Regions from separate parts of the Homo sapiens genome. Here regions 1, 2, 3, 4, 5 and 6 are each linked to region 7. Evidence: promoter capture Hi-C in 16 types of primary human blood cells and fetal thymus (Javierre and others, 2016). All regions are on one chromosome and are shown on one strand. Each heading gives the region's core, a stretch centred on a gene start or on the middle of the fragment in contact. The rest is flanking DNA. Distances are from core to core; before and after follow the strand shown.

Evidence for each region. Contacts are between HindIII fragments. The CHiCAGO score rates a contact against its expected background, and 5 or more counts as called.
Region 1: a contact is called between a fragment that was not itself captured here and the fragment with the promoter of TAFA4 in region 7, in 8 of 17 cell types (M2 macrophages, total CD4 T cells, total CD8 T cells and 5 more). The highest score is 8.9, in M2 macrophages.
Region 2: a fragment that was not itself captured here is called in contact with the fragment with the promoter of TAFA4 in region 7 in 8 of 17 cell types (M2 macrophages, M0 macrophages, total CD4 T cells and 5 more); the score reaches 9.5 in M2 macrophages.
Region 3: a fragment that was not itself captured here is called in contact with the fragment with the promoter of TAFA4 in region 7 in 8 of 17 cell types (naive CD8 T cells, naive CD4 T cells, total CD4 T cells and 5 more); the score reaches 12.3 in naive CD8 T cells.
Region 4: a fragment that was not itself captured here is called in contact with the fragment with the promoter of TAFA4 in region 7 in 1 of 17 cell types (endothelial precursors); the score reaches 5.7 in endothelial precursors.
Region 5: a fragment that was not itself captured here is called in contact with the fragment with the promoter of TAFA4 in region 7 in 4 of 17 cell types (total CD4 T cells, non-activated CD4 T cells, activated CD4 T cells and 1 more); the score reaches 8.7 in total CD4 T cells.
Region 6: a fragment that was not itself captured here is called in contact with the fragment with the promoter of TAFA4 in region 7 in 9 of 17 cell types (naive CD8 T cells, activated CD4 T cells, M2 macrophages and 6 more); the score reaches 9.7 in naive CD8 T cells.

The regions. Positions count from the first base shown.
Region 1 is chr3:67,098,832-67,101,950 of GRCh38, reverse strand. No RefSeq gene overlaps it. Among named protein-coding and RNA genes, the nearest start is that of KBTBD8, 100 kb to the right of the region's middle. The HindIII fragment of the contact is 4,626 bases long and covers 1-3,119 here.
Region 2 is chr3:67,078,711-67,082,219 of GRCh38, reverse strand. No RefSeq gene overlaps it. Among named protein-coding and RNA genes, the nearest start is that of KBTBD8, 82 kb to the right of the region's middle. The HindIII fragment of the contact is 861 bases long and covers 1,550-2,410 here.
Region 3 is chr3:67,131,618-67,134,918 of GRCh38, reverse strand. No RefSeq gene overlaps it. Among named protein-coding and RNA genes, the nearest start is that of MIR4272, 92 kb to the left of the region's middle. The HindIII fragment of the contact is 5,179 bases long and covers 1-3,301 here.
Region 4 is chr3:67,232,511-67,235,673 of GRCh38, reverse strand. No RefSeq gene overlaps it. Among named protein-coding and RNA genes, the nearest start is that of MIR4272, 8.6 kb to the right of the region's middle. The HindIII fragment of the contact is 559 bases long and covers 1,611-2,169 here.
Region 5 is chr3:67,170,743-67,174,051 of GRCh38, reverse strand. No RefSeq gene overlaps it. Among named protein-coding and RNA genes, the nearest start is that of MIR4272, 53 kb to the left of the region's middle. The HindIII fragment of the contact is 9,105 bases long and covers 1-3,309 here.
Region 6 is chr3:67,115,770-67,119,313 of GRCh38, reverse strand. No RefSeq gene overlaps it. Among named protein-coding and RNA genes, the nearest start is that of MIR4272, 110 kb to the left of the region's middle. The HindIII fragment of the contact is 6,876 bases long and covers 1-3,544 here.
Region 7 is chr3:68,930,927-68,934,134 of GRCh38, reverse strand. It overlaps TAFA4 (TAFA chemokine like family member 4), which reads left to right and starts at 1,588. Exons shown (of 6, transcript NM_182522.5): 1 at 1,588-1,895. The HindIII fragment of the contact is 2,333 bases long and covers 117-2,449 here.

The DNA of each region.
Region 1 (3,119 bases), core at 80-2,579, 1.8 Mb after region 7:
AATTTTATAGTATTTTGCATACAAGTCAATAAACGTGTTGTTAAATTTATACCAAGTATTTATTTTTGTGGGTGTACCACTGTAAATAGTATCTTTTTAAATTTCAAATTCCAATTGTTAGCTACTAATACATAAGACAACAATTAACTCTATCTTAACCTTTCATCCTGCAAACTTGCTATGCTCACTTATTAGTTCTGTTAGCTTTTTGTTTATTCTTTCAGTTTTTCTACATAGATGATTGTATCATCTGCAAATAAAGACCATTCTATTTCTTCCTTCCTAATTTGTATACATTTTATTTCTTTTGCGTGTCTCATTGAACTAGCTAGGACTTCCAGTATGACATTAAATAGGAGTGTTGAGGGGAGATCCTTGCCTTGTTTCCAGTCTTAGAGGAAAGTGTCCAGTCTCTCACCATTAAGTATGATGTTATCTGTAGCTATTTTGTATATGTTTTTGATTAAGTGGAGGAAGTTTCTCTCTATTCTTAGTTTTCTGATAGCTTTTTAAATGACTATGTTCCATTTTGCTGAATGGCTTTTTAGCATCAGTTGATATGATGATATAACCTTTCTTCTTTAGCCTATTGATACAGTGGGTTACATTGACTGACTTTTTAATGTTGAATCAGCTTTGCATACTTGGAATAAATCCAACTTAATGTTGATGTATAATTTTTTATACATTGTTGTATTACATTTGGTAATATTTTCTTGAAGATTTTTGCATTTTTCTTCATGAAATATATTCATGTATATTTTATCTCTCTTGAAATGCTTTTGATATTGGAGTGATACTAGATTCCTAGGATATTTCAGAAGTGTTCCCTCTGCTTCTGTTTCCTAGAAGAGATTGTGGAGAATTGGTATAATTTCTACCTTAAATGTTTGTTAGAATTCACCAGTTAACACATCTAAGTCTAGCTTTCTTCGTTAGAAAGGTATTAATTATTGATTTGAATTATTAAATAGACATAGGGCTATGCTGGTTATCTATTTCTGTGCATTTTGAAAGTTTGTGTCCTTCAAGAAATTGCTGTTTAATCTAAATTATCACAGTGGTCATAGAGCTGTCTGTTTATAGTATTCTTTTATTATCCTGTAGATATCCAATGGATCAATAGTGATGAACTTATGTTCATGTCTAATGTTGCAACTTGTGTCTTCTTGTTTTTCTTTTTTAATGGTTAGCCTGGCTAGAAGTTTGTCAATTTTATTGATCTTTTCAAAGAGCCAGTTTTTAAATTCCATTGATTTTTTCTTTTGTGTTTTTACTTTTATTGATTTTTATTTTAATTTTTATTATTTCTTTTATTCTGCTTGCTTTAAATTTAAGTTGCTCTTTTTTGCTCAGTTTTCCATAGCAGAACTTTAGTATACAGAATTTTGATGATTCTTGTTTTTGAATATGTACATTTAGTGCCATAAATGCCCCTCTAAGAACTACTTCCTCTGTGTCCCATGTGTTTTCATAAGTTGTATTTTCCTTTTCATTTAATTAAAAATATTTTAAAATTTTCAGTGAGACCTCTTCTTTGACCCATGGTTTATTTAAAAGTGTATTGTTTAATTTTCAGATATAACGTTCTGTTATTGATTTCGAGTCTGATTCTCTTGTGGTCTCAGGACACATTTTGTATAAATTCTATTCTTTTAAATTTATTCAGGTATGTTTTATGCTTGAGGATGTGGTTTATCTTGGTGAATGCTCCATGTGAACTTGAGAAGCATCTGCTGTTGTTGGATGGATTATGCTATAAAATATCAATTAGACCAAGTTGATTGATGGTGCTGTTCAGATCATTTAGAATCTTATGACTTTCTGTCTGCTTAGTGTATCACTTACCAATGGAGAAATGTTGAAATCTCCAACTATGATAGTGGATTTATTTGTTTCTCTTTACAGTTATTCAGTTTTTGCCCCATGTATTTTGGTATTCTCTTTGTAGGTGCATATACATCTTAAATTGTCATGATGTTTTTGAAGAATTGCCCCCTTTACAATTATAATAATGCTCATCTTTGCCCCTGATAACCATTCCTGTTTTCAAAGCTGCCTTGTCTGAAATTAATTTAGCTGCTCCAACTTTCTTTTGATCGATATTAGGTTGGCATATCTTTTTCCATTTATTTTCTTTCAGCCTGAGTCTTTATACATAATGCGGGTGTCTTGTACACAACATATAGTTGGAACTTGTTTTTATGTCCACTGTAACAATCTCTTTTTAATTAGTGTTTGCAGAACATTCCAATTTAAATTCATTGTTTATGTGGTTGGGTTATCATCTACTATGTGTCTGTTTTCTATTTATTGAATTTGTTTTTTATTCCCTTCCTAGTGCTCTCATTTTTCTGCCTACTCTGTTTCAAATGAGCATTTTACATAATCTTATTTTATCTCCTTTCTTAGTATATCAACTACATTTAAGAATTTTTTGATGGTTGCCCCAAATTTACAATATACATTTTAACTTAATAGAAGCTCACCATCAAATAACACTGTACTGTTTCACATGTAATGCAGGCACATATAAATAGGATATTTCCAATCCCTCCCTCTTGTGCCATTGCTGCCATTAATTCACTTATCCATATCCTGTAATCACCCGGTATATTATTGTTATTATTACTTTCAATACATACTTGTCTTTTAGATTAATTTAAAATAATAAAAATACAATATTTTATTTTGCCTTCATTGATTTCTTCTCCAATGCTATTCCTTGTTTTTACATAGTTCAAGTTTCTTACCTATATCATTTTTCTTCTACCCAAAAAACTTACTTTAACATTGCCTGCAGGACAGGACTTTTGGTAAATTATCTCCGTTTTTGTTTATCTGATGAAGTCTTTCTTCTTCACTTTTGATGGATAATTTCACTGTATATAGAATTCTGGATTGGTGTTTCTTTCTTTCAACACTATATTGCTGCTTGGGCTGCCATAACGAACTACCATAGACTTGGTGTCTTAAGCAACAGAAATTTATTTTCTTATAGTTCCAGAGGCTGGAAGTCCAAGACAACTTGGCTCCAGCTCATTTGGTTTCTAGTGAGGGCTGTCCTCCTGGATTGCAGATAACCACCTCAATATGTCCTCACATGGCCTTTCCTTAGT
Region 2 (3,509 bases), core at 731-3,230, 1.9 Mb after region 7:
GGAAACATAATCAGATAGGAAAATGACAGATGTTGCAGAGAATACAACTTGTCAGTAAAGATGCTGTTTAATAAATCATCTGTCATCAAATTACATAATCTTATTTATTAGGGTTTTGGAAGTAGAAGTTACAAGTCTGTCTCTGTCTCTGGTGTGTGTGTGTATGTGCATGTATGTGTCTAAATCTTTTAATCCTATGTAAATATTCAGAATATTCATATTTCCAGATGGGAGAAATTTAATTAACCTTTGATGATTGCACTTTTCACTCCCATTTTAAAAGCAAATATTTTAAAACTTATGAAAGATAGTAAAATCAAAATTTCAAAGACAGTATAAAATATCTCATGAATACTTTCATACACTAGCCTTCAGAAATAGACATAACCCTAAGATCACATGAAAAGGAAGTAGAAATCTCAGCTGTGTGGAGATTGAAAAAGTGTTTAATTTCTGAAATGAAACAATTACATGTTCAGAAGTATATTTTTAAATAAAATATTGATAATGGTGAGTAGTACTGGATAAGTACCAACTAAGACTTAGTGAGTTCCCCCAAATGTCTCTGATGAGAATTGGTCCTCTCCTAATGACAAGTATAATTTTTTTTATTTGTGTGCTTCACATATGATATTTAATTTGAGATTCCTCTCCCCACAGTAGTTATTATTCAATAATGAAATAATGAAACAAATTAGGAAATACATGTTCATTTGTATGAATGTATATGTATGCAAGTATACATATGTGTATCCTTATTACAAAAACACCCATTTGAAAAGCACTTAAAAAGAAAAATAAGAAAAGAACAGTGACCCCATGATTAAACTCTTCACAAGTAGTTAATATTATTTAACATATATATTTCCCAACTTTATTGTAGTTTTAATAATACATATCTTATATGTAAATATACACATATATACACATAATTTGGAACAAAATATATTGACTGATATCTTGAGTTTTTCACTTATTGCATTGTGGTGTTTTTACATGTCCTCATAAAGTATTTATTGAAAGCAATCTATGGTTTACTTCTTAATATCTCATTGTATTTATATCTTTTAATTTATTTAACCTTCTATCATTGGACATTTGTAGTGTTAGCACATACATACCATTTTAAATAATGCTGCAATTAACATCTTTATATCTTTTTTCTTTTTTTATCTCTTAATGTTTTATATGATAAATTATTATAAGTGGAATTTCCCGAGACATGGTAATGAACATTTTAAATTCTTGATATACATTACTAAATCAGTCATTTATAACTTACATATTATTTTCGGCAATGGATAACAGTTACCATTTATCCATATCCTTAACTTCGTATATTAATATTTATTTGACCCTTGTCACTTTAATACATTAGAAAGAACTCCTAATTTTTAAAATCAGATGATTTGCTTATTAGTGAATATTGATTTCTTTATGTCCTTTGCCCATGTATCTTTATAATCTTAAGAGTTTTATATGGTCTCACAATATTAATCCTTTATCTTCATTTAACAAGTATTTTTGACCATCCACTTTATGCCAAGCTTTAGGCTAGGTACAGGAGGCGCAATATTGAGTGAAGTATAGTTTCTTCTTTTCTCACGGGCTCAGAGTTTGCCTTCTTTTCTCACAGAGAAAAGAGTTTACCATCTGTGGGAGACAGGCAGTTGAACAGTGGGTTTATAGGAGAAATATAAGGTGCTAAGGAAACTTAAGGGATCGGCACTGTGCAGAAGAGCTATTATAACAGGGCTGGAACTGCTGTGATAACTTGCAAATACCTGCTTTCAAGGCTGCTCCTGGACTTCGTGAGAGTTACAACTGTTCCCCGATAAGACTGGTTCATTGTGCCTAAACTACTCATACAAATAATGTGCTTTATTTTTAAACACCTGCTTTCTCTTGGGGAGTCTGAAATCTAGGTATACGGCAGACAGAAGCTGCCCACAAGACCAGACCCCAAGAATACCCCTGGGCACTTAGTTTGTAATGAGCTTCCCTGGTAGACAATATTTCACACATGTTGTCCTGACTTGTTGCTGGGAGAATTAAGCACATCCTGTGTGACTCCACTTGGAGATGTCTTTGAGCACCTGCACCCAGTTTGTTTCAGATTTCACCCCAAGTGCCCTTTTCCTTTGTTGATTTTGATTTCTATCTTGTTGCTGTAATAAATCTTCACAGTGAGTACAGCATATAGAGAGTCCTGTGAGTTCTCCTAGCAAATCATGAACCTTGGGGATGATCTTGGGGAGCCCATGCACAGATACCTAAGCCAGTCATACTACATGCTTTTTGGGGAGTAGGTGAAAACATATGGAGAACTTAAAGACTCAGTTAGAGCACCTCAGTAGTGAAGAAAATTAACCCTAGACCAAACACTGCTCTAGTCCTCACTAACAAAGCTTAAAAGCAAGACCTGAAAGGGCCACAGTGTTTCAAAGCAACTTAACCTTGTTTCAAAACAAAGCTGGAGAATAGTTTTAGAAGGAAATAATCCAGGCTGGGCGCAGTGGCTCGCCCCTGTAATCCCAGCACTTTGGGAGTCCGAGGTTGGCGGATCACGAGGTCAGGAGATGGAGACCACCCTGCCCAACATGGTGAAACCCCGTCTCTACTAAAAATACAAAAATTAGCTTGGCGTGGTGGTGTGTGCCTGTAATCCCAGCTACTCAGGAGGCTGAGGCAGGAAAATCGCTTGAACCCGGGAGGCAGAGATTGCAGTGAACTGAGATCGCGCCACTGCACTCCAGTCTGGTGACAGAGCGAGACTCCAAGGAAGGAAGGAAGGAAGGAGGGAGGGAGGGAGGGAAGGAAGGAAGGAAGGAAGGAAGGAAGGAAGGAAGGAAGGATGGATCGATCCAGCACCTGGCTGGGCATGGTGGCTCACACCTGTAATACCAGTATTTTGGGAGGCCAAGGCAGGCAGATTGCTTGAGCTCAGGAGTTTGAGATCAGCCTGAGCAACGTGGTGAAACCCTGTCTCTAGAAAAAATACAAAAATTAGCCAGGCGTGGTGGCATACACCTGTGGGCCCAGCTACTTGAGAGACTGACGCAGGAGGATCACTTGTGCCCAAGAGGTCAAGGCTGCAGTGAAATGTGATCACACCACTGCACTTTAGCCTGGGTGACAGAGCAAAACCCTGTCTCAAAAAAATAAAAAAGAAATAATCTAATACCCAATAAGCTAAAATTCATAATATCTGGCATCCAACAAAAAATTACCAAGCTTGCAAAAAAGCAGAAAAATGTAACCCATAGGAGAAAAATCAATAGAAACTCATCTAGAAATGCTACAAGTGATAAAAGTACTAGACAAGGACCTTAAAACTGTTATTTAACTACTCCATATACTCCAGAAGCTAGAGGAAAGATTGAATATGTTAAGTGGGGACATGAAAGACATGAAAAGATACAAATCAAACTTCCAGGGATGAAAACTACAGTGTCTGAGATGCAAAATACACTGGATAGGAAAACAACTATAGCTTAGATATTGCAGAA
Region 3 (3,301 bases), core at 429-2,928, 1.8 Mb after region 7:
TTTCAGAAAAGTATTTTGTCCTCTGGGCAGAAGGTGAAAGTATTGTGTCTGGACTTGTGAGAGAACAGGCAAAAAAAAAAAAAAAGTGTAATTCCAGAGAGGAGGCTAGAATTAATGAATTAATAGATTCCAATGAAGACAGTGAAAGGAAAAGCAATGTAAGTCTCCCAACCCTGTCCTTCATTCTTCTCACACAGATAAAAGCCAGCTCATGAGCTGAAGTCAGTTCTTTTTGCCCAATCTTAACTGTGGCTCCAAAAGCTCCTAAAGTTGTTGTCCTGGTATTTTATAGTAAAAGAGGAGCCTGTGTGCCTGACACAGTTGATCTGAAAGTAACTTCTAATTGCAAGAAGATAGGGAGCAAATTGCAAGTATCATTAAGGAAAATGACTGGTTTCAACACATAGCTAAAGTCAAGTAGACTGAGACAATTAATTCTGTTACTACTCAGTGCTGGCAAGTTAATTTATGACCCAACTTTCTAACGCCTGATTATTTCATGACTGGTTTTCTTTCCTATCAATGATTTTAATCTAGGTTTATCTCAAACATTTTATCTTAGCAATCTTTTCTAGATCAGAAAAGAAAGGGAGAAAGATGCATACTAAGCACTTGGGTGCCAGCATCAAATTCTCTGGGTTTGAATTCTGACTTCACCACTTACTAACTGTCACTTTGGGCAAGTGATTCTACCTTCCTACACCTTGGTTTCTTTGTCTCTAAAATGGGGATAATGCATATAAAGCATTGTAGCATTGAAGTGGGCCATAATCAGGGCATTTTACAACATTTCTCTGATCAGCTTGCCACTTTTAGTGCAGTGGCGCGATCTCAGCTCACTGCAACCTCCAACTCCTGGGTTCAAGCGATTCTCCTGCCTCAGCCTCCTGAGTAACTGGGATTACAGGCATGTACCAGCACACTCAGCCAATTTTTGTATTCTTAGTAGAGACAGAGTTTCACCATGTTGGCCAGGCTGGTCTCAAACTCCTGACCTCAAGTGACCTCAAGCCTCAGCATTTTGCTCTTTTTGAATAACGTATCAATAGTATTAAACAAGAGGGCCGGGCGTGGTAGCTCATGCCTGTAATCCCAGCCCCTTGGGAGGCCAAGGCCGGCTGATCATAAGGTCAGCAGTTCGAGACCAGCCTGGCCAACATGATGAAACCATGTCTCTACTAAAAATACAAAAATCAGCCAGGCGTCGTGGCACATGCCTGTAATCCCAGCTGCTCAGGAGGCTGAGGCAGGAGAATCGCTTGAACTAGGGAGGCGGAGGTTGCAGCGAGCCGAGATCACACCACTGCACTCCAGCCTGGGCAACAGAGTGAGACTCCGTCTCAAAAAAAAAGAGAGAGAAACTTGGGAGAGTCGACTTTGATCTCGACACTCCTCCTATTTCCTTAGCTTGCAAGGAATAGTCCTGAAAACCTCAAAAGTGGCAAAGTTAGTGAGGAAAACATTGATCCTACCAGATTCAGATCTTGTCCTTCAGGAGATACTTTTACTGCGTTGCTGATGCTGCATAGGTGTTACATTCTAGCTCTATTGGCCCATATTAATGAAAGTGACATAATGGACAATTATAACTTGTGCTTGAGCATGGACCATACAGTTCCTTCCACATCCTTAGAAAACAAAATTAAATGTGAATTTTTATTTTATCTTTGTGTTAGTGGTTCAACCTAAATTGTACTTGGCAGACCCATTGGTAAAAGCCAAACTTATGTAGCATAGGATTTGCATTTGTGGAAATGAACAGGTTAACTGATTCATTATCTACAGTCAGCCTACAATTAAAGGTTGATTCACTGGTATAGTTATCTCCTCCCTGTTCTTCAGATTTGTTTCTACCTACCTCTGCCCAGAGCTAGCCTGACTCACATGGGCCTGACTGCAATGAAACTTGCATTTTGATATCTGTTGGGTGTTTTAACCATACACACATTCCTTATGTTTTTCTCCTTTAGAACATTATCAAACTATTCTCTGTGAATGAAAACATAAGTAATGGGAAAGATATTTATGGTAAAGACGCCACTGTGGAGCAAATGGAAATCTTCCTACTTCCAACATAGAAAAGGTTAGAGTGTTGTGTAAGTTCTTGTTTGGCTGAGAAAAACAAAACGATGGTAGCCTTGTTCCCAAACTAACCAGTAGTATACTGAACCATTGCTCTGTGGGACAGAGCTAAGATAAAGGTATCTGCAATCTCTTGAACCCCTTTTACTCTAATAACTCCATCATTACACACCAGAACATGTGTATTTAAAGAACATCAGTCTTAGCATTTGTTGACCAGCAGAACATTTCTATCTAAAATAATCATTAAAAAGCCAACATCTATTCTGTGAAGTCTCTAGATTTCTATTTGTTCAAAGAAGGAGAAGAATGTCAACATCCAAGAACTCTTTTATAAGAGTAAGTAACTGTGACAAAGAGAGGAGGATGTCATCCTGGTGGAACAGATGTACACCTGCTGTGGGAGAGTTGTGAATGCCTTGTGAATGCTCTCTGCCCGGGTCAGATGTCCAGCCTCTCTAGAGAACAGCCATCCAATCCCTGGGAAGGGACCATCAATCATTATCCATGGGTCAAAATTTCCAGCAGTGCTAGAGGAAACATTTTGATTAATGCCTACATGGTGACCTGGATGTGCTGAGGGCTGAAAGTTGTAGTGAAAATGAGGTAAGAAATAATTGTTTTTAATAACCTTGATAATTGTCCTTCTCATGGTTCTTATTATGAATTCTAAATTTATTCCACACTATTAAAACCCAGTCTAGATATGTTATTATGAATGAGTTCCTGTAAGCTAGAAACCACCATGAGAGAATGCTGGTTTGAGCCCCTGGAACCGTATGCTCTTGGTTTATGTATTTAAAAAAAAACATGAAGATTCAAATAAAACTAATTATATTTAGCCAAAAGGGGTATGAAAAGTATAGAGAGCAAGGAAGTTGATTTTAAACAAGATTTCAAAAGACTTCCTCAAATACTTAAGAAATCGGTATTTAAACAAGTCCCAGAATCACAGCAGAACACAGAAGAAGGTCTGTTAGGAGTCTTGATGGAAATATTGACTAACCTAAAAGAAAGGCAAGAGCTGCTGAATTCTCCTAGAGGAAAGGCAAGAGCTGCTGAATTCTCCTTCAATTACAATGCTTAGGGTTATGATTCTCTTAGGTGACACTGGTCTGAACTTCTTTTGTATAAGAATGTTTAAATGACAACGATGAATCTTTACCTACAAATCCTGATGTGTGAGAATTGTCCATTTTTCTGGTTTTAAAGAGAAGAA
Region 4 (3,163 bases), core at 641-3,140, 1.7 Mb after region 7:
CTTAACATGGATTCTCTCATTTAATGTAAACCACATGATTACAGGCTTTGTTTGGATTATTGCTGCATTACCAGTACCTAGAAGAATTCATGATACATTGTGAGTGCTTAAAAAATACTTATCTAGGTCAGGCGCAGTGGCTCACATCTGTAATCCCAGCATGTTTGGAGGTTGAATGGGGAGGATCGCTTGAGCCTAGGAGTTTAGACCAGCCTGAGCATCATAGTGAGACCTCATCTCTACAAAAAAAATAAAAAATAAAAAATTAGCTGAGCATAGTGGTGCACGCCTGTGGTCTCAGCTATTCAGGAGGCTGAGTTGGGAGGATCGCATGAGCCCAGGAGGTTGAGACTGCAGTGACCCATGATGGCACTATTGCACTCCAGCCTGAGTGACAGAGTAAGACTGTCTCAAAAAAAAAAACTTATTTAAATTAATTCTAAAAACAAGTGTTATTCCCATATTCCAGAAGAGGAAACTGAGGCCCAGAAAGCTTAAGTAATTCTCCTAAGCCAGTACGAACTGTGGCTATGATTTGATACTGCTTTATTATTTTACTTATACTTTTAACCACTTTGCTGCTTCTCACAGTAACTGTTTGATATCTCTTTTCTTATTTCTTAATGTACAATATGTTGGTTATTGAGGCTTCTGGCTTCTTTTTAATATTCTAGCTTCCATCATTTTTGGTACTTTAGAGACTTATCTCTCTGAAACAAAAGAATTGGGAAGAGTGAGAGTTGAAATCTAAGTGCCTATGGGGTTCAGCCAGAAACATAAATGAGTGAGGCAGGCCAGGTGGACAGCCTGGGGATGTGACAAGAACTTACCCTCTGGGAAGCTGCTCTCAGGTCCAGCAATTGCAGCTGTGGAGGATGCAAATCAATGTTGTCAGGTCATCCTGTTTTTCAAGAGAAGTACAACATCTAGATTTTGATATGAAAACTGCAAATGGAAATATCCGTATGAAATATCTCAAATATAAAATGTGGACAACAAGGCAATCTAAAAAACAAAACCAAAACATAGCAAGTCAATTTAAACATCTCCATATGCTCAATCTAGCCCATTGATCTGTAGTTAGCAAGCTATAGGAGAGAGTGAAGAAATTGAAATAGAAGTATAAGTGGCTTTAGATAACTGATCCTGTAGTTCTTGTTTAAAAAAAAAAAAAAGAAAAAAGAACATGATGAAAGACAGGTTGTAACTATTTAAGATCTTATAGTAGGGATTTCTAGGAAACAGAGCTACAATAATCATAGTATCACAATACTTTTGCATAGTGCTTCATATTTTTCAACTTGCTTCTATATATGCATTTAAATCTCCCTGCAGATCATTTTGATGGCTCAATCACTCAGTCAATATTAAGCAGCAGAATTTAGGAATAGACCCCGATCTCGCGATTCTCAACCTGGTTTTCTTTTAGCTCTACACATCCTGAGCAGTGATAACTGACCATCAATATTTGCAATCCTTACAGGCTTGTGCTTTTTTATCTCATACAGACAGGAGATAAAATACTAGGATAAGGGACAGAGCTCACGCCTGATTACTGATGGAGAGAAACAGGACAATCATTTGAGGATACATATATGATTGCTAAAGCTTGTTATTCTTGGCAGATCGAGATTGTTGATTTCCATGTGGTCCTCCCTAAATAATCTCTAATTACAAAAATACGCGCCTAGCAAAGGCTGAATAAATAATGTAATTGCGGCATAATCATTGTGTACATTCCTAAACACTCACCTAATGACTAGTAGTTTTAGAATTTGGTACTCCAAGTGCAGCTATTGCCAGCCAGAGCTGAAATGTGGCATGTTTTGCATGCTCCACGGAAATCATTTTAAATTAAGTGGATTTGAAAAATCATTACATGGAGGCAGATTTTTCTGATCACTTGGCCTGTGTGGGCCTCTCAAATGTCAGTTCTGTGCAGAAAGGGCTCGTGGCATTTGATGCCTTTCTGCCAGGTTGTGTATTTGACAGCTGTTCTGGGGTGTCTTTTCCCAGCCACTGGCCTGGCTACTGTCATAAAACCAATTAAAGTTGCAGGCAATTAATGTTATTTTCCTCAAGTGCTCCTGGAAATGCTTATATCATGTAGCACTTCAGCATGAAATCCGTGACCTTTGGAAATGCATGCACAGGAAGAGCAAATAAGCTTGGCTATGCATGTACGGTGTGCCATTAAGTTACGAAGAATATGAAAACAAATTGTAGTTGCTGGGTGCAGAGATGTCCGTGGAGCACTTTATATCCTAGGATTCTTAGAAATGAAGATATGTGTTCACACCAAAACCCAGATAAACCATAAAGGGGTGGTAGGTATACCGAACAGCAAAACATTTGCATATGTTCAGCAAATTATTTAACAAAACTTATGAACTGAAACACATTCAGAAAGGGGCTCCATGACTAGTAGTTTGTACCTGTTTTACCACATTTTAAGAAGGATATTAAACTGAAAATGAAAAGGAAAACCTGCCACTTTAGGAAGGGTTAGAGACAACAGAGCTGTTTAATCTAGAAAGAGAAGATTTAGGTATAAGGACAGCAGAGTTATCCTTCATTAGGTAAAATGAACTTTCCATGAGAAAGTTTGTCTTATTCCCTAAGTTATCCCAACAGATTTTTTTGTATCCCTTGGTTGAGGAGGGGACCTGGAGCATAGTAGGTGATAAATAAAAGTGTATTAAATAAGAAAGAATGGGACACACCATATGGTTGGGTATTATTTACCCATTCAGTTAAAAAGAAATGAATATATAAAAATAGCTGTTCCATGCAATATGTGGTTTGTGAGGTATGCTCCCTGTTATCTGCATAAGCCAGAGCTACAAGCTGGTAGCTTATGGACTGTCACTTACATATGCATGGGTACTGTTTGCCTATTCAGTATTTTCTTAATCGTTGATGTTTAAAAAATTTTTAATTGAGATGCTTGCTTGTGCACTCCTGCTCTTGCTCTCGTGCATGCTCTCTCTCTCTCGCACACACAAACACACAGAAACACACACACACCCCACACTTACACACCGCCCTTATCCTGCATTTTAACAATTGCCTGGAGCTGCACAGCTGGGGCATTAGCTTTTTGGTTCTTATCAGACCTCACTACTCCCTGTTGTTTTAGACTGAGCTCCATTTCACTCACTGA
Region 5 (3,309 bases), core at 727-3,226, 1.8 Mb after region 7:
ATGCTTTTTAGCCTCAAAGCTCTATGCTCTATCCCCAGCTTACTTCTCAGATGTGATCTCATGCCACCTTCCTCCTTGCCCACTGCACTCCTGCCACCAGGCCCTTTGCTGATTCTCAAATGAGCCAACCTCATTCTTACCTCACATGCTGTATTTTTGCTCTTCCATCCACCTGGAACTCTTGTTTCCCTGACTGTTTTCTTCTCATTAAGTTCTTTAATTAAAAGTGACCTATCCATTAGAGAAATGCAAATCAAAACCACAATGAGATACCATCTCACACCAGTTAGAATGGCGATCATCAAAAAGTCAGGAAACAACAGATGCTGGAGAGGATGTGGAGAAATAGGAACAATTTTACACTGTTGGTAGAAGTGTAAATTAGTTCAATCATTGTGGAAGACAGTGTGGCAACTCCTCAGGGATCTAGAACTAGAAATACCATTTGACCCAGCAATCCCATTACTAGGTATATACCCAAAGAATTATAAATCATTCTATAAAGACGCATGCACATGTATGTTTATTGCAGCACTGTTCACAAGAGCAAAGACTTGGAACCAAGCCAAATGCCTATCAATGATAGACTAGATAAAGAAAATGTTGCACATATACACCATGGACTACTATGCAGCCATAAAAACGGATGAGTTCATGTCCTTTGCAGGGACATGGATGAAACTGGAAACCATCATTCTCAGCAAAGTAACACATGAACAAAATCAAACACCACGTGTTCTCATAAGTGGGAGTTGAACAATGAGAACACATGGACACAGGGAAGGTAACATCACATACCAGGGCCATCATGGGGTGGGGGCCTTGAAGAGGGATAGCATTAGGAGAAATACCTAATGTAAATGACGAGTTGATGGGTGCAGCAAACCAACATAGCACATGTATACCTATATAACAAACCTGCATGTTCTGCACATGTACCCCAGAACTTAAAGTATAATAAATAAATAAATAAATAAATAAATAAATAAATAAATAAATAAAATAGACACTGAAGCAAAAAAAAAAAAGAGAGAGAGAGAGACCTGTCCTGACCACCTTATCTAAAGAAGCTCTCCAAACCCCAGTTATTCTGTTTTGTTTAACATTCTTCATAGCACTTACCACAATTCAATCTTGTCTTTCCTGTGTATTTACCTCTTGTTTATCTCCTCACTCATCCTCAGTAGAATATATGCCACTCAGGAGCAAGGACATTGTCCCTCCTCTTCACTGTATTCCCAGAGTATGTGCAGCCTAGCACATAAAAGGCTCCCAACAAATGTTTGTGACTCTGGCTAATCAGCTGATCATATTTTTCCAAGATAGCAACATCATCTCCTATCCCATATGTTTTCTAAAACCCTAGTCACATCCCCATAAAGAGGTGCAGACTACTTCCCTTCTTCTCCAACCTGGGTGGGTAGTCTTATAACTAGCTTATAATCAGTAGTGTGTAGTAGAAGTGATACAGGCTAAGTATCCCTATTCTGAAATTCTTGGGACAGAAGTGTTTTGGATTTTTAGTGTTTTTTTTGGAGTGTGGAATATTTTCATATACATAATGAGATATCTTGGAGATGGGACACAAGCCTAAACATAAAATTCATTTATGGTTTATATACAGTTTATATACATAGCCTGAAGGTATTTCATATCATATTTTAAATATTTTTTTGCATGAAACTAAGATTGTATACACTGAGCCATCAGAAGGTAAATATGTCACTAGCAACCACCTATGTGGACAGTCTGGTTGCTTGCATGGGAGAATCTGAACATGTGCAACAAATGTACATCACAGCTGAGGAGGGCTCCAAGGGTCTTTGTTCCCTTGGAAGCACAGAATAAACTGCTTGTTATGCTCCTGCACTGTGACTTGCAGCCTGTCACATGGGGTCAAGTGTGAAATTCTCCACTTGTGGCTTCATGTCAGCAGTCAAAAAATTCAGACTTGGGAGCATGTTGGATTTCAGATTTTCAAATTAGGGATGCTCAACGTGTATTGCGTAACTTCAAAAGCTAGGTCATAAAAGGTGGTACATCTTACCTTTGGAGTCCAGATTAACCCATGTGCAGAGGCCCAGGAACTACATGAAGACAGTAAGCTGCCCATCCAGCCCCCAGCTGCTTCAGCCCCACACTCTCCCAGCCACCATATGACTTGAAACCACAAAGGGAACCTGAGCTGAGCCACCTAGCTGAGTCCTTCCAAGATTCCTGACCCACAGAAACTGGAAGAGATAATGACATAATTGTTGTTGTTTCAATCCACCAAATTTTGAAGTCATGTGTTACCCAGCAATAGATAACTAGGACAGTGGCTGACTGGCTGAATTTGTGAATGAATGAATGAGCTACCAAGCATATAAAGCACAACTTATTATTTCCAATCTGATTCAGAATGAAGTGAAGAACATGTAATCAAGACAGAAAACTATCTTTTAGAGATCTGTGTGTCTAAATAGAAATCAAATATTTTAGCAAAATTCTAATATTAAGTGCCCCAATACAATACAGCTTCAATTGTACTGTTGATTAAATCATATACCCTCTGGAACAGTATAAGACATGTTTTACCACTGTATAGAAACTGTTGCCTATCACAAGTTGCCACTTGTTCAAGGTAATTATGGCCAATTACTGATGGCAATTTTTTATTGCTCACTGTAGCCTCACCAACCCTTTCAGACAGCCATGAACAATTGATTAGGGTTGTCACTATACATGTTTGTCATGCTGGCCTTAAGTAGACCCCAAAACATCCCAAAGAGACACAGATTATCTCCATTCCTCACATCCCACCATCTCTTTCTCTGGGATTTGGACAGTGAGGCTCGAACTAGGGGCAACATGACAAATTTGAAAGTTGACAATATTTGGCTTGTCTGTCAACTCTTCTGAAATTCTATTTCCATCTATATCCATCCCTAATGAGGGAGGCAGCATTTGTTTATTGACTATTGGAGTTACTCACTGGTTGATAAGCAGGCCCAGAGATCTCTATCAATAAGAATTTGCTCAAAACAATTGGGATGTTAGGATGGTACTAGCATTTTCAAATACTTTGTCCATTGGTTTGTTTTGGACAACACTGGATTGTTAGTTCTGCAAGGATTTCTTTCACTCATAATTAGTCTGTATCGCTCATTTTCATCCACATACATGTGTGCTATTGTTGTCTATAAAAATGAGCACAGTATCATTATTTGCTTTCAACTAAACTGAGAAAGTAACAATTCTTTTGGCCCAAAGCACTTATCTATGATCTCAAATACTATCTTTGTCAAGTAGTCTTTCCTAGTTCCCTAC
Region 6 (3,544 bases), core at 985-3,484, 1.8 Mb after region 7:
TATTCAGGGCACTGTTTTCTACTAGAACACTGAGAAAATGATGTCTCAAAAGCCTAGGATTTTTCTCCCCAATTTGTCCTCATTTGGTAGAAAATGTGAAGGAAAACTAAGAATTATGTTTTTGACCTTTTATTCTGGTTAGTGGGATTTCTTTTTATCCCAAGTCGCATTGGCAAAAGAATTCTACACTTTGATTCTACAGTGCAGTGGCATTAGAGTATGACATGGATGTGACATTTAATGTTTCACGCCTTGTATATTAATGGAGGGGGGTGTTAGAGAAAGATGTCCTGAGGGTGAAGCAAGACTTCTATTTTCTTCAAATCTTCATTGCTTTTCTGCTTTCATCACAGAGGGGGATTATAATGGTTGAACAGCTGCAGGCAGACATCTCTTGGAATCCAGCAGCAGCTCCGAGATTCCAAGAAAAAGTTTAAATAACATTTTCTACAGAATTCACATACTTACAGTTAATATTTTGGATCATTTCAAGAAAATGTAATCGTGAACTCTTTCCACTTTTTTTTGTATGTTGCCATGACAACTAGGATCAGATTGTGTTCATAAGTAACTCAGTGGAATTGCATGATTCGCCTTACCAGTAAGCAAATCACTTATAACCTCATCTTTCCAATGAAAAATATTGTGGCTACTCACTTATTTCCTGTTCCATCCTTAGCAGAATAGGTTGTTTTAAGGGTTTTGTTTTGATTTTTTTGTGGTGATATTTGGATTGATAGCCAGACAAATAACTAGTCACCCCTTTGAAAGCGTTAGGCAGATGGTCGGCAGGGGGTTGATAGGAGAAAATAAAGGTATAGATAAACTGGAAATTAATAAATCAGATACAGATCAAAGTTGTGACTCTGACATCATTAGCAGCCTGCTCTCATTAACAGAACTGACTACCCTTGTTCAGGTATATAAATTCTCCCTTTTTCAAATATTTAACATTTTGACTCTACATGGAAGCTATGTATGACAGTGCAAAGAGAAAAGAGGTTACGTCATTGAAAATGAAATCTCTCCATATTAGAACTCTTTTTTTGCCCCAAGAGGGTTTCTTTTCATACATCTGAAGAGAATTGGTATCCAGCTTGCTTATTAAAATGGCCATATCATTTACTAGGGCTAGTCTCAAATCCTAGTTACATCTACTAAGAAAATTATTCTCAGAGAGTGGTCTGGCCACTAAAAGTACCTGACCGATTTTACCTCTGCCACTATATAAGTGGTAATCTCTTCCAAGACTAGTATATAGAGAAATAGACAACCTATGCACAACTTAAATACCTAAGGGAGTGCCACATCTTGAAGATGAAGATTTGAGCCCCTCTTATGCAAAAGTAATATTTAAAAGTCTTCTATCTTAAAAGGAGAAAATGCCTGTTTGCCTTTTCCTTTTTATCTATCCCTGCCAGTTCCTAGGCACATGAAGTTCAAACTTTCACAAGGTGATATAGGATGAGTTATTTTAACAGCAATAACAGCTGCACACATCTCAACACTAGTTTCATTTCTTTTGGGGAATTGTAGTGGGGAATAAAGCATTTTATTTTCCCTATTCAGAAAGAGAGAACATTGTTGGGTTTTCAGGAGAAAATTAAGTTATCCTTTCTGTTTTGTTTTTCTCTGACACATTCTCTCTCTCTCTCTCTCTGTCTGTCTGTCTCTCTCTCTCTCTCTCTCTCTCTCACACACACACACACACACACACACACGCAACCCAAACTCACACATTCAGACATGAAAGATTTCGTTTTCATGTTTCAGACCTTCAAAGTCAGAGAAGATGGCTACCAGCACTGGAAGTTAGAGGAGGACAAGGTGGAGTGCCTTAAACCAAAATGGGGCTTTCCATAGAAGAAGGAAATAATGGGTTTCCAGCATGTCAAGGAGGTCATAGGGCCACAGTGAGGCAACACATCTATGGTAGAGACTGCACATTAGATTTTACATATTTGTGAACAACTGCAAAAATCTCCATGCCCCAGTTTGGCATAGAGGGAGTAGAGTTGTTCACCTTTGAATCATTATGAGAGTCTGAACAATGAGCATTGAGGTTAGGGTTCAAAGCCAGATTTTTTTTTTTTGAGATGGAGTCTTGCTCTGTCACCCAGGCTGCAGTGTAGTGCCATGATCTCGGCTCACTGCAACCTCCACCTCCCGGGTTCAAGCAATTCTCCTACCTCAGCATCCCAAGTAGCTGAGATTACAGTTGTGTGCCACCATGCCCAGCTAATTTTTGTATTTTTAGTAGAGACAGGGTTTCCCCATAATTTCCAGGCTGGTCTCGATCTCCTGGCCTCAGGTGATCTGCCTGCCTTGGCCTCCCAAAGTGCTGGGATTACAGGCATGAGCCACTGCGCCCAGCCCAAAGCCAGATTTAATTAATTGAAAATGTGATTTTACTTGCACCCAAGTGTAGGAAGTACATTTAAACCAATCCTAAAAATTATTGACAGTGGAGTGTAGTTGTATTTTCACCTGTGTATTAGTATATGTCTTAGGGTTCTCTAGAAGCAGGTCTTGAGACAAGAATTCGAGTGCAGATGTTTTATTTCAGAGGTGAATCTAGAAAATCCCAGTAGATGAATGAGTAGTGACACAGGAAAGGGGAGGTAGCCAGTAAAATGTACATTGTCAAACCAGTTGTCATGTGAGTAATGGAAACTCAGTCCTGCTGGGGAATCCTGAGGATGTCCAACTTCAGAATTATCCTACCTGTAGAGTAGAGAACTTGGACATTTGTCTACCAACTTACAATAGTCATTGTTCATGGCTGCTTCCAAGAGGAATTATTCTCTGGATTTCCAACCTATTCAATGGGGCCAAGGAGCCTCTGGCCACCAGAGAAAGCCCTCAGGCCATTGGAATTTGAGGGTGCACTAATTCCAAGGAGACAGGAGTAGCTTCCCCACTTCCACAGGATCTATTACAGTTTATGATGCAATCAAATAGCTCTCCATTTATAACAAGTCAATAGCCTGGTTTTATTTCCCAGGTGGAATCTTTTCACGCAAACAATGAAGATTTCAAATGTTACATTTCAAGTGTAGGAAACACAATCTTAGAGATAGAATGGATCAGAAATAATCTAGGTTTTTTCCATTCATTTTATCAATAAGGTAATGGAGGTCTAGAGAAAAAAATATGTTCAGATTTCCTCTCATGATTGATATACCCCATATTAGCAGCCAGAGGTTCTGATTTCCAGCCCAATATTGTTTTGACCAAATTATACGGGGTTTTACCACCTCTTGTGTGTAGCTATTGGTCAAAAGTGGAAATGAAGCCATATATTACACAATATATGACCTGAGCTGGCACACTAGTAAGACTGTTATTGTCACTGGGTCATTAGAATATAATGTCACTCTATTTTCTATTTCTCAATGTTCCTTCCAAGTTACAGTGGGATTATAAACCATCCCCCTTCCCCAAGTCTTACATTTTCCACGTTCTGTGGCATTGCTGTGTCTCCCTCAGATGGTGTCTTCCTCTGCTTGAAATGGAGTTCCACATTGTAGCCTCACCAGATATT
Region 7 (3,208 bases), core at 339-2,838:
GGAATCTCCTGGCATGCTATTTCAGGTTTTGCTTGGATCTCCCCTTTGGCCGTCACAGAACTTCAATGCTAGTCTTTAAAGGAAATCTCAAAGATCAAGCGCCTATCTCCAAAGCTTGAATTCTCTCTTAAACTGGTGACATCTTGATAACAAATTGCCTTTGAATGTAGAACCCCCATTTTAATAATAAGAGAGTAAGAGATTGAAACTGTTTAACAAGTAAAATGTGCTATGGTATGTGTGGTACGGGGAACAGAAGCAGAAGGCCTGCCATACGTTAGTTCAAGGGGTAGAGTCAGAGAAGGGTGAACATACTTTGGAGTGCAGCAGGGGCAGGATGGCACATAATTGTATGTCAATGCAGAGTAAAAGGACCAGAAGATGATAAGCCAAGCCAATGACAGTGAGCAGCATAGTGGTACAGAGCAACGTTTTCTAACTTTATGCATGCACCAGCCACTTGGGCATCTTGTTAAAATGAAGATTCTACTTCTGGGGTGGGGCCTGAAAGTCTGCAGTTCTAAAGTGTTCTCAAGGGACCGCTCTACGACGCCATGCTTTGCATACTAAAGAGCATGGATTTACTAGTTACCTGTGTAATCTTCAGTAAACGATTTAACTTCTCTGTGCTTCAGTTATCTCATCTATAAAATAGAGATCAGATGAACTAATCCCAGTAAAATGAATACCATTAAGTGACACTGATTATCAGTTACTTCACTTGCGGAAGAGTGGAGGGCATGACTAGGAATGGGGTGGGAGGAGGGAGTCAAAGAAGTCTTAGCTGAATTTTTTTTTTTTTTTTTTTTTTTTTTGAGACGAAGTCTCGCTCTGTCGACCAGGCTGGAGTGCAGTGGTGCGATCTCGGCTCACTGCAAGCTCCGCCTCCCCGGTTCACGCCATTCTCCTGCCTCAGCCTCCCGAGTAGCTGGGACTACAAGCACCCGCCACCACGCCTGGCTAATTTTTGTATTTTTAGTAGAGACGGGGTTTCACCGTGTTAGTCAGGATGGTCTCGATCTCCCGACCTCATGATCCACCCGCCTCAGCCTCCCAAAGTGCTGGGATTACAGGCGTGAGCAACCGAGCCCGGCCCCAGCTGTATTTTATACATTAAAAAAGAAAAGTATTTAGGTATTCATACGTGGGCCGAGTTTTCTCCTCTCTCATACAAGCACATTACACGCGAAGCCAGATTAGTTCATGAATGTGCTACTGCACGGGGTGGCTAAGAAATCCTGCTTGCAAACCGCTTTGGGTCCTGCGTGGAGAATGGTTTCGAGTGAGAGCCGAACCCTAAATCCGTCTTCCTTATGTGGAGCTCAACGCGACTCTCAGGTATTCAGGAAGAATACCTTTTGCTCAGCACCTGCGGAGTGGTGGCCACAGCGAGGCGCTCGGGAGAGGCGCCTGGAGGCCGGCAGTGGGGGCGCGCCGCCTGAGCAGGGGTGCGGGGCGGGGAGAAGGCCGGCCCACGTGGACCGCGGGGCCAGGCAGGGACAGGAGCAGCCGGGCGGCCCGGCCAATCAGCGCGTTCCGCGGCGGGCCCGGCCCCTCCTGGTCAGCGCGCTAGCTGGGCTCGGCTCCGCACTGCTAGCTGCGCGCCGCCCTGGACGGGGCGCACCGACTGCGCGCGCGGCTGCGGGCAAACATCGGGAGTCCTGCCTCAGCTGCCGCTTCTCCAGCAGCAGCTTCAGGCTTCTCCCGCAGGAGCTTCGGGCTTCTCCTGGTAGAGACGTGGGAACTTTTCTTCTCCTGGCGAGGCTGCAGAGGTGATGGGCCGCTCCCGGGGCTCCCGCGGGGAGGCGGCACGGTGAGCGTCCTCGGGCTCCGGTGCGGCGATCAGTACCTAGTTCCGGACGCGCCGGTCCGACTTGGATGCCGGCTCTAGTCGAGTAAGAAGGGTTGGAAGGGATAAGGAGGGGCGAGAGGATGGGGTGGGGGTGGATTTGGACCCTGTATTTAGGTGCTGTCTCGTGGGCAGCCGCTGCCTCTCGGCTGGTACCGAGTTAACTCAGCTCGGTGCAGCTCCCCTCATCCCGGCTCTCTGGGGCGCCGGGGAGAGTGCCTGTGCTGAGGTCGGCGTGCAACCCGAAGTTGGAAGGGGCACTCCGAAGTAAGGATGTGTGGCTGGAGAGAGGCAGCGGCCGCTTCCAGTTTCGGGGTTCATGTCTGACAGAATCCCCGGGGGTGCTCTGCTGATGCGGAGGAGGCCACTCGATGAATTGGTATAGGGGGTGGTGAACTCACCGTGAGCTCTTTTCTGGACAAGTCGACCTTAGCGCTTCATCCCTTTAATCTGAGCTAGGATCTTTCTAGGAGCAAGCAGGTGGGAGCCGGTCAGCGTCCCCCCGCCCCCACCCCCACCCTGAAGCTCTGGTTGCTAGGATCTTGCTTGAAGGGCGCAGCGAGCGCTCGGGAGGCGTCTTCCAGCTGGGAGCGCAAAGCTTCCCGCCCAAGTGGAGAACTGGAGCGGGTCTGGAAGTTGCGTCTCTTTCCGCGGGAGGCATCTCAGATTTGCCCACCAAGGTGGCATCTCTACATTTCTTTCGCTCTTTTTCCCACTTTGCCCTGTTAATCCGCTCCTAGAAGAGAGGGCATCCTTGACCCTACGCAAGGAGCTCGGGAGAGGATTGGAACTGGAAAGCTTGATCTCCTGCACCTGGTGAGGCTGCCCAAGCCAGACACAGTGCCGCTGGTGCGTTTTCTTCTCGAATCAGCATCATTTAACGTTTAGGGGCTCCACGGAGCCTTAGTAAAGCTGTGAATCAGCTCCTAAGCAGTATGTACATGCACGGGTTCACGGACTCGCCGAGACCTAGCCTGGTGCCCATCCCCCGTCACCGAGATTCAGGGACCCCCCTTTGGTTTAACGTCTTTATCCCTGAACTCTTTTCCCTTTTAACTTTTCAATGGTCTTCCCTCTGAGACAAGCAAGGTTGATGTGATGTGACAGGCGATCCCCGTGTGTGGGGATGGGCGCCTTCGAAGCTTTGGTCTGTTTCTGTCTCTAATATCCTTGGCATAAAGCTTGTCCACCATAACTCGTAGCTGCCACCTGCAGACTCGGTCACCCAAACTTGTGCACACTGATGGCCTAGCTTCCTAATCACACGCATCTTCGTTTGGCCCCCTCTAGAACACTCGCTGAGGAGGGAAGAGGTGGGGGCAGTTTGTGTCAGAGCCCAGTTCAGGAAGGCCTTGGATT